Linked DNA regions of Homo sapiens: all the other regions are linked to region 2. Evidence: promoter capture Hi-C in human tissues and cell types (Jung and others, 2019). All regions are on one chromosome and are shown on one strand. Each heading gives the region's core, a stretch centred on a gene start or on the middle of the fragment in contact. The rest is flanking DNA. Distances are from core to core; before and after follow the strand shown. Region 1 overlaps DGKD (diacylglycerol kinase delta). Region 2 holds the start of UGT1A6 (UDP glucuronosyltransferase family 1 member A6). Region 3 overlaps DGKD (diacylglycerol kinase delta).

Evidence for each region. The method cuts DNA at HindIII sites, captures the fragments that hold promoters and counts their contacts. A contact is called where the count stands out against the background at its distance.
Region 1: a fragment that was not itself captured here is called in contact with the fragment with the promoter of UGT1A6 in region 2 in 2 of the 25 tissues and cell types used here (liver and thymus).
Region 3: a contact is called between a fragment that was not itself captured here and the fragment with the promoter of UGT1A6 in region 2, in 2 of the 25 tissues and cell types used here (mesenchymal stem cells and stomach).

The regions. Positions count from the first base shown.
Region 1 is chr2:233,432,848-233,435,846 of GRCh38, reverse strand. DGKD (diacylglycerol kinase delta) reads right to left here. Exons shown (of 30, transcript NM_152879.3): 4 at 1,363-1,467; 5 at 946-1,078; 6 at 1-29. Among named protein-coding and RNA genes, the nearest start is that of DGKD, 80 kb to the right of the region's middle. The HindIII fragment of the contact is 4,831 bases long and covers 1-2,999 here.
Region 2 is chr2:233,691,206-233,694,166 of GRCh38, reverse strand. It overlaps UGT1A6 (UDP glucuronosyltransferase family 1 member A6), which reads right to left and starts at 1,277. Exons shown (of 5, transcript NM_001072.4): 1 at 302-1,277. The coding sequence starts at 1,162. All of the region lies in intron 1 of UGT1A8 (UDP glucuronosyltransferase family 1 member A8), which reads right to left. All of the region lies in intron 1 of UGT1A10 (UDP glucuronosyltransferase family 1 member A10), which reads right to left. All of the region lies in intron 1 of UGT1A9 (UDP glucuronosyltransferase family 1 member A9), which reads right to left. It also overlaps UGT1A7 and UGT1A. RefSeq lists enhancers at 1,925-2,531, 2,532-2,961. The HindIII fragment of the contact is 31,227 bases long and covers 1-2,961 here.
Region 3 is chr2:233,396,228-233,399,198 of GRCh38, reverse strand. All of the region lies in intron 3 of DGKD (diacylglycerol kinase delta), which reads right to left. Among named protein-coding and RNA genes, the nearest start is that of DGKD, 43 kb to the right of the region's middle. RefSeq lists an enhancer at 1-199. The HindIII fragment of the contact is 5,802 bases long and covers 1-2,971 here.

The sequences.
Region 1 (2,999 bases), core at 14-2,513, 260 kb after region 2:
ACAGCGCTTGTGGGCCTTAAATTTGCACACTGTGAGAGAAGGGGCACATGAGCCTACAAGCTGTGTCTGTGCCAAGAGCTTCCCATGCTGAGCAGTGTTGTGAGAACCGTCCAGCTCCAGAAAAGTCAAGGAAGGAACCAATGGCACTCCCATTTTATAAGTGAACTACTGTGATACGCTTAGAGGCTGATGGCGGTGGGACCGGCAGCGGCAGGGAAAGCTGGGGATCAGTAAGCTTTCTGTAACAGGCCAGAGAGTGAGCAGTGGAGACTCTGCAGGTCGCAACCAGCTTCCGTCACCACTAATCAACTCTGTCATGTAGCACAAAAGCAGCCAGAGACAATGTTTTTTTACGGGCACAAATTTGAATTTCATGTAATTTTCATGTGTCACAAAATATGATTCTTCTTTTGATTTTTTCCAATCATTTAAAAATTTAAAAGCCAGTCTGAAGCGTGGGAGCTGTACAAAAACAGGCAGAGGCAGGGTGTGGTCCAGGCTATAGCTAACAAGCCCTGCTCTAGCCCACTGCTTTGCCACCAGACTGAATGCCCTTGCCCAAACCCTGCAGCCCTGACCTCTAAGTCTGTAACACACTTTCAGTCCATATATGCACAGCCCCGTTTCCCCGGCTGCAGAGTGTGAGACACAGGGGCCGACCACTGTTCCTTCAGTGCCTTTCCCTCTGTGTGCTCTAGATTTCCCATTTCTCCTTTTGCCACCCACCACTTCCCTTTTCACTCTGAGCACTATAAAAAATGATTTATCAAGGACTCTTCGGCAGGTAAAATAAACAAGAATGGCATCACAGAAATCGCTGTGCCCTTGACTGACCACATGGGTGACAACGGCTTATTTATGGTGACTGGGTTTGGATTTCCAAGGCTTTATCAAGTAAAATGCCAGGCCACCTTTCCTGACAGAATAACAAACGCACATCCGTACCCTCGCAGGACAGCCCGTGCGACGTGACCCCAGACAGAGCCTCACGGCACACATTGCAGTAGGTCGGCCTCGCGTGGGAACAGGCGTACCAATTGTGCATCCCTGAGAAGTGGTCCATGCTGTACTGGGTGGGCTGGAAGAACGAAACCAAGAGGGCAAAGATAAGACTTCTCTTTTAAATTGTTAAATGCAGTAACTTGGACAAGATTAAACAAAGTATCCAAGAGAGGAGAGGAGGAAGGTTTATAAAGGACAGGTCTGCTGAGAGGACAAGCAATAAGCTTTAATTGTATAAAGAACATGCTAAGAACGTGAGCTCCAGACTGTGGGTCCGCACGTGGGAGACACTCAGACAGCAGACACTGGGGTGAGGGAGGCAACAGGAGGCATTTGGAGAAGGGTATTTTCTTTTTTAACCTCAAAGTGCTCCCTGTTCTGCACAGTCTTTAATGCTGCAATCCAATCTTCCATTTCTTTTCTGTTATCAGCACACAAGATGAGCTTCCTGCATGGAGTTATGACCTAGAGAAAGAAACAGGTTCAACAGATCCATGAACAAAAGGCAAGTGCTGATAGCTATGAACGCTTTCTTAAAACCGACCTCACACAGACATAAAAATTACTATTTCATTCAGGTATTCACACTGAACCGAAAACAAAAATGGTTATCAAGGATCACTAAAAATTAAAAATAAGAATGATCTCAAACCAAAAAGACAGTGAAATTTAGTTTTTATATATTCATCAGCAATCAATTTAAGTGGACATTTATAATTGCTTGCTACTTAGACACAGTAGTAAACCCTAAGGAAATAAAAAAAGAAGTAACAACTGTTGTTTTCCGAACAGTGGAAGACACAGTTGCTACTGCTTCAGGGAGCCCACAGTGATGGCCAGCATTTGAACAGTTGAGGGAAGTCTGCTCAGCTGTAAGTCTGGAATACCATGAGCATGTATCACATATAAATGTTCTTGTAGAAAACCTCAATATCAGACTATGCAGGACCTGAACAACTTGACTGGAAATAAAGCTGTGACCTGGTAATAATCAACAAATGAAAATGATATCCATAATATATAAAGGGTTCTTATCAATCAGTAGAAAAAAAATCTTCCTGATATAAAAAAGGCTATGAACTTGCATTTCACAAAAGAAATACATCAACGTTCTTTTTAATTTTTTTTGTGGGTACATGGTAGGTATATGTATTTATGGGGCATATGAGACACTCTAATACAGGCACAGAATAATCACAGAGTAAATGGGGTATCCATTGCCTCAAGGATTTATCCTTTCTCTGTGTTATAAACAATCCAAGTATACTCTGAGTTATTTTTAAATGTACAGCAAATTATTAACTGTTGTCACCCCGTTGTGCTATCAAATACTAGATCTCGTTTATTCTAACTACATTTTTGTACCTATTAACCATCCCCCCAGCCCCACTACCCTTCCCAGCCTCTGGTAACCATCAATCTACTGCCTATCTCCATTAGTTCAACTGTTTTCTTTTTTTTTTTATTAGCTCCCACAAATAAGAACATGTGAAGTTTGTCTTTCTGTGCTTGGCTTACTTCACTTAACATTAAGGGTCCTCCTGTTCCATCCATGTTGTGGCAAATGACAGGATCTCATTCTTTTTCATGGCTAAATAGTACTCCATGTGTATATGTACATTTTCTTTATCCATGTGTCTGTTGATGAACACTTAGGTTGCTTCCAAATCTTGGCTATTGTGAATAGTGCTGCTATAATCACATGAGTGCAGACATCTCTTCGATACACTGATTTCCTTTCTCTTTGGTATATACCTAGCAGTGGGATTGCTGGATCACACGGTAATTGTATTTTGACTTTTTTGAGGAACCTCCAAACTGTTCTCCATGGTGGCTGTGCTAATTTACAATCCTACCAGCAGTGTACGGTTCCCTTTTCTCCACATCCTCGCCAGCATTTGTTATTGCCTGTCTTTTGGATAAAAGTCATTGTAACTGGGGTAAGACATTATCTCATTGTAATTTTTATTTGCATTTCTCTGATGATCAATGATATT
Region 2 (2,961 bases), core at 28-2,527:
CCTCTGTTTGAACTGGGACATTTCTAAGGCTCATTCAATGAGTATGTGACTGTCCCAGATTATCCAACTAAGCAAATCTCCTACTCTTGCCAAGCATGAGCCCTGTCTTCATCCGAATGCCTCTGTATCACTTCAGCCTCAGGTCTCCTATGTGTTCCCGCTGCTCCGAGCCGGGTATCACTTCCCCCCACCGTTTCTCCAGGAAATCCTCCAAGGGACAGTCGGCTCAAGGAGCCAAATGAGTGAGGGAGGACAGAGCCTGGAAGAAACAAGGCAGTCCAAAAGAAATAAACCCACCAACCTGAGACAAGTCTTTCCTCTTCTTACAGTTGATACCTCCAATGAAGACCATGTTGGGCATGACCGGCCTAGGATATTCAAGCACAAAGTCATATCTTAACAGCCAAACAGAGACCTTCTGATATAAGGTGATTATATCCACATCTCTCTTGAGGACAGCTGATGCGAGTTCTTCATACTTTGAAAACAGACAATAAAATAGATAGGGCTCCAACAAATTAACAAGGAAGTTGGCCACTCGTTGGGAAAAAGTCATGTGGTCTGAAAACTTTGTGTAGCACCTGGGAATGTAGGACACAGGGTCTGGGCTTCTGCTGAATGTATGCTCCAGGGAACACGGAAAACCCCTGAAGAGGTACACAGATGGTAGGCCCAAATACTCAGCCAGGATCACCCCACAGGGTAAGGCTGGGTCTGTGAAAAGAGCATCAAACTTGCTCTCCTTAAAGAAGTTCAGGGTGTCCCTGTCCTGCAGGAGGCTCTGGCAGTTGATGAAGTACAGGCCAATAACAATCATGTTATTCCTGTACTCTGTCTGAGGAGCAGTTAGGAATGATCGCTCAGCAAAGTGATTGTTTCCAAATGATTGGTAACGGTTCTTCAGCTCTTCTTGGTCATACGGCACTGGATAGATTTTTCTTGTGTAGTATTTGGATTCTTTCAAAAGCAAATTAACTTCAGGCACCACCACTACAATCTCATGACCCCGGTCACTGAGAACCTCAACTATATCCTTCATACTAAGCCAGTGGCTTCCGTCCTGAGGGACCACCAGCAGCTTGTCACCTACAACCATGCCCCAAAGTGCTAAGAAGAAAACCCCTGCAGAAATTCTCTGAAATGAGCGAAGGAGGCAGGCCATCCTGGAAAGAGTTAAAGTAACAACGGTAATAAAGAGTTTTCACTCTCCAAATCACAGGGCTCCTAGGTATTTTCCCTAAACTAACCACTGCTTTTCACAGGTCCTGTCTACCTCTCCCTTGCTCTGAATTTTACCCTTTGATATGTAAGAACCCAAATTAATATTTAACCATTTTAATCACATGGTTAATATGAACCAACTATGGCCGTGTCAGCTTTCACCTGAGCTTCTGGGTGTTTCTCTTCAGCTCCACAAGTCTGCTTCTCCCTCTCTGAAAAGTTATAGCAACACTTTGAAGATGACTTGGAGAGACCCCTGAGGACCCCCTGCCAATTCTCTATCCCGAACTTGCTGGATTCCTCATCATTGACGTTGTCTGTTATGTCCATGATGTGCGGGAATTTTTCTTGCACACGGACCTATTCTCTAACACCAGCTGGGTATCCTACAATTCAATTCCATTCTGAACTGAATTCTGAGTTAGCACGGACCCCACAGGTTAAGGGCTCAGTCCTACAAGACTGCCCTCACTTCAGACACCAATTGCAAGTAGTAGGTCCCCAGGTTACCCACAACTTCTGTCTGACTTGGCAAAAATCAGAGGTTCACACACCCTCTTTCTTGGAGTCAATCATTTGCTAGAATGGCTCACAGAACTGAAGAAAACAGTTTATTTACTAGGTTTGGTTTATTACAAAGGATATTGCAAACAATACGGATGAATAGCCAGAGGAAAAAGTACAAAGAACAAGATATGGGGGTATGGCCATGGAGCCCCATCTGCCATCTCTGGGTGCCCCACCCTCCACACCTTCAGCAACCTGAAAGCTCTCTGAACCCTGCCCTTCTGAGTTTTTATGTAGGCTTCCATACATAGTAGGCATGATTGATTAGATTGTTGCCCATCGGTGATCAAATCAATCTTCAATCTCTCTCTCCTTTCTTCCCTCTAATCGCAAGGGTTTTGTTCCCTGGCAACTAGCCCTCATCCTTAGAGACTTTACATCTCCTTTACATAAACTTAGGTGTGATCGAAAGGGATCTGTTTTGAATAACAAAAGATTCTTTGTTCACGTTTATCGCTCCCACCACTTATGGTTTCAGGAGCTGTGTCCAGGAAACAAAGACAAACATATATTTCTTATTATACATCACAATATAACAACATTCAAACTGTTACTTGCCTTTAGGAAATTAAGATTTGAGAAGTATAAGTCTAGCCAGTACGTGGTGAGAATCCTAGAGCAGGAGTCAGAAAGCCTGGTATCTGCTTCTGGCCCAGCCACCCATCTGCCAGGGGAGTGACTCCTCTCCTGAGCTTCAGGTTTCTCAACTGAGGCCCAGAAAGGGAGGGTCACACTGGCCCTGCCTGCTAACCACACTGCTGAGGGCGGTCCCAGAGCAAGACCTGTGTAGAAACTAGGCTGTCCCAGTGAGAGGTGGTACCTTGAATTACTAGAACAGACTTGCCCAGAGCTAGTCATGCACACCTGGCTGGCACGCGAGTTCCTGTTCCCACCCACAAGTTTGGCACCGGAGGTGTTCTGGGGCCCAGGAAGGGAGAAGAAGCCTGAGCAACATGATTAGAGGGGCCACTCCAAGGACAGGGCTGGCCCCCATGGGGAACATAACCAGGATGCAAATTCATTGTTCAAGGCATGCGAAGACTCAGCTCAGTCCAAGCTGGGAGCAGCCTCCCAAGAGGATTGGCAGCTTACAATGATCAAAGTCATGGGGGCGGCAGCATCTTGCTTTGAGTTCATCTAGATAGCAATAAGACTCCAGGAAGGTTGCAAAGG
Region 3 (2,971 bases), core at 17-2,516, 290 kb after region 2:
ATAAGACCAAATGGAATACAGGTAGGAATGACTCTCCAGGAGGGTCAGGGAGGGTGAGAATAAAGCCCACTGCTTTCATTCCTTTTTGCTGCATTTTGAAATTTCAAAAACTAAATGAGGCAATAAAAATTAATCCTTCATCAAAAGAGAACATGGGTTTAAAAATGATGAAAAACACTGACTTGGAGAAATAAGTAAATAAAAGCATAAAACTCGAATGGACCCTACAGTCTTGTAGTGTTCCACAGCTCTAGGCTGCTAAGGGAAGATGATAAAACTGGGCATGGTGGCTCACACCTGTAATCCTAGCACTTTGGGAGGCTGAAGCGGGCAGATCACTTGAGCTCAGGAGTTCAAGACCAGCCTGGCCAACATGGTGAAACCCATCTCTACTAAAAATACAAAAATTAGCCGGGTGTGGTGGCGGGAGCCTGTAATCCCAGCTACTCGGAAGGCTGAGGCACAAGAATCACTTGAACCCAGAAGGTGGAAGTTGCAGTGAGCTGAGATCGCATCACTGCACTCCAGCCTGGGCGACACAGTGAGACTGTCTCAAAAAAAGCAAACAAGCGTAGGACTTGAAGACAACAACTAAAATTACTATAACACAAAGTTTAATAAATCAGGGGAGAAATCCTAAGTCAATGAAAACATGTGAAAACCCAAGAGAAAATGGAGAAGATCAAAGGAAAATCTTTCCCTGGAGGGAATGACTTTGTTAAACAGAAAACTTTTAAAAAATATTTTACCTATTGGCCGGGCGCGGTGGCTCACACCTTTAATCCCAGCACTTTGGGAGGCTGAGGCCGGCGGATCACGAGGTCAGGAGATCGAGACCATCCTGGCTAACGCTGTGAAACCCCGTCTCTACTAAAAATACAAAAAAAAAATTAGTCGGGCGTGGTGGCGGCACCTGTACTCCCAGCCACTCAGGAGGCTGAGGCAGGAGAATGGCGTGAACCCGGGAGGCGGAGCTTGCAGTAAGCCAAGATCGCACCACTGCACTCCAGCCTGGGCAACAGAGCGAGACTCCATCTCAAAAAAAAAAAAATTTTACCTTTCAAACAAGAATAAGCCAGGATAAATACAAAGTATGCCAAAATCGGGGGTGGGGGGTGGGAGCTGGGAGGGGAGGTTGCAAGTAAATGTAGTAACAAACAATATAAAAACTTTGATAACTAGAACTAGGAAAAAAACCAACAAATTAAATAAAATAAGGCTAAAGAATGTGACAGACATGGAAGATAAAGAAGCCTCCCCCACCACCCCACAGCCCCTCTTCTGGACTCCTGAGCTCACTTAACCAGCCTGCTGCTGTACTCAGCAGAAGCCCTGACACCTTCATCTACTCCACCCCCTTCTGACCTGATCACTAGCCTGCCCACTGCCCCCTAGACACCTCCGCACTCTCCACTCCACTCTCTCCTAACAATCCTACAAACCTCCCTCCCCTTCCAGTTCACCCTCCACCCTACAGCCAGAGTAGAACTTTCTGACACCTGCAAATCTGAGAATTTCACCAAATAAAACTATTCAACAGCAGCCCAAGTCCTGAGGAGTAAGTCCCAAGCTCTGCCCTGGTCCCCTCTGGAGTCCTCTCACTCTGGCCTCTGCCAGCCACTCTGGTCCCCTCTGGTGTCCTCTCACTCTGCCCCCCCCCCCCAGCCACCCTGGTCCCCTCTGGTGTCCTCTCGCCTCGCTCTGGCCCCCCGCCAGCCACCCTGCTCCCCTCTGGTGTCCTCTCACTCTGGCCTCTGCCAGCCACCCTGGTCCCCTCTGGAGTCCTCTCACTCTGGCCTCTGCCAGCCACCCTGGTCCCCTCTGGAGTCCTCTCACTCTGCTGCCCCCCTCAGCCACCCTGGTCCCCTCTGGTGTCCTCTCGCTCTGGCCCCCCCCCCAGCCACCCTGGTCCCCTCTGGAGTCCTCTCACTCTGGCCTCTGCCAGCCACCCTGGTCCCCTCTGGAGTCCTCTCACTCTGGCACCCCCCCCCCCCCAGCCACCCTGGTCCCCTCTGGAGTCCTCTCACTCTGGCCCCCCCCGCAGCCACCCTGGTCCCCTCTGGTGTCCTCTCACTCTGGCCTCTGCCAGCCACCCTGCTCCCCTCTGGTGTCCTCTCACTCTGGCCTCTGCCAGCCACCCTGGTCCCCTCTGGAGTCCTCTCACTCTGGCGCCCCCCCCCCCAGCCACCCTGGTCCCCTCTGGAGTCCTCTCGCTCTGCCCCCCCCAGCCACCCTGGTCCCCTCTGGTGTCCTCTCGCTCTGGCCCCCCCCAGCCACGCTGGTCCCCTCTGGTGTCCTCTTGCTCTGGCCTCCATCAGCCACCCTGGCCCTTCCACCACTTTGCACACTCCACGTGGTGTCCCCATCCCAAGGTCTTCGCACTGCTGGTCCCTCCACCTGCCCCATCCCCGAGGTGCCTATTTGCACAAGAAACACACAGACACACACAAAGAAACACACAGACACACACCAACACACAGACACACATACCCTCTCAGGCTCATGCTTCCCTCAGTGGATTTACCACTATCATTCTTCATGTCTCAGCTATGAGACCTCACTTCCTCTGAGAAGACTGCCCAGCCCCTCCCCAAGGCCAGGTGGGGTCTTCCACATATCAGGCACCATGTACTGCTCTTCCATCGGAGCTTGTCTCAGCCTGTAACTAAGGTTCTATGTATGTGCTTATCTGATCTCCCACGAGAATATAAGCTTGATGCAGAGTGGCTCCTCTCCATTTCTACCCACCGCACTCAGCATGGTGTGTGGCCCACGGTAGACCCCAAAAAAAATGCTTGCCAAAACAATGACTAAATAAACGAGCCAAATTCCCAAAGAACAAGACAAAGCACATGAACCAGAATTCGTTTTTTCAAGTGTAAGAGAAAAGAAGGAAAAAACAGTTTTTCAAAGCTGGAAAGCCCAAACTGGAGTGAGGAAGAAATCAGGCTTGCTCTATCCCAGACCAACC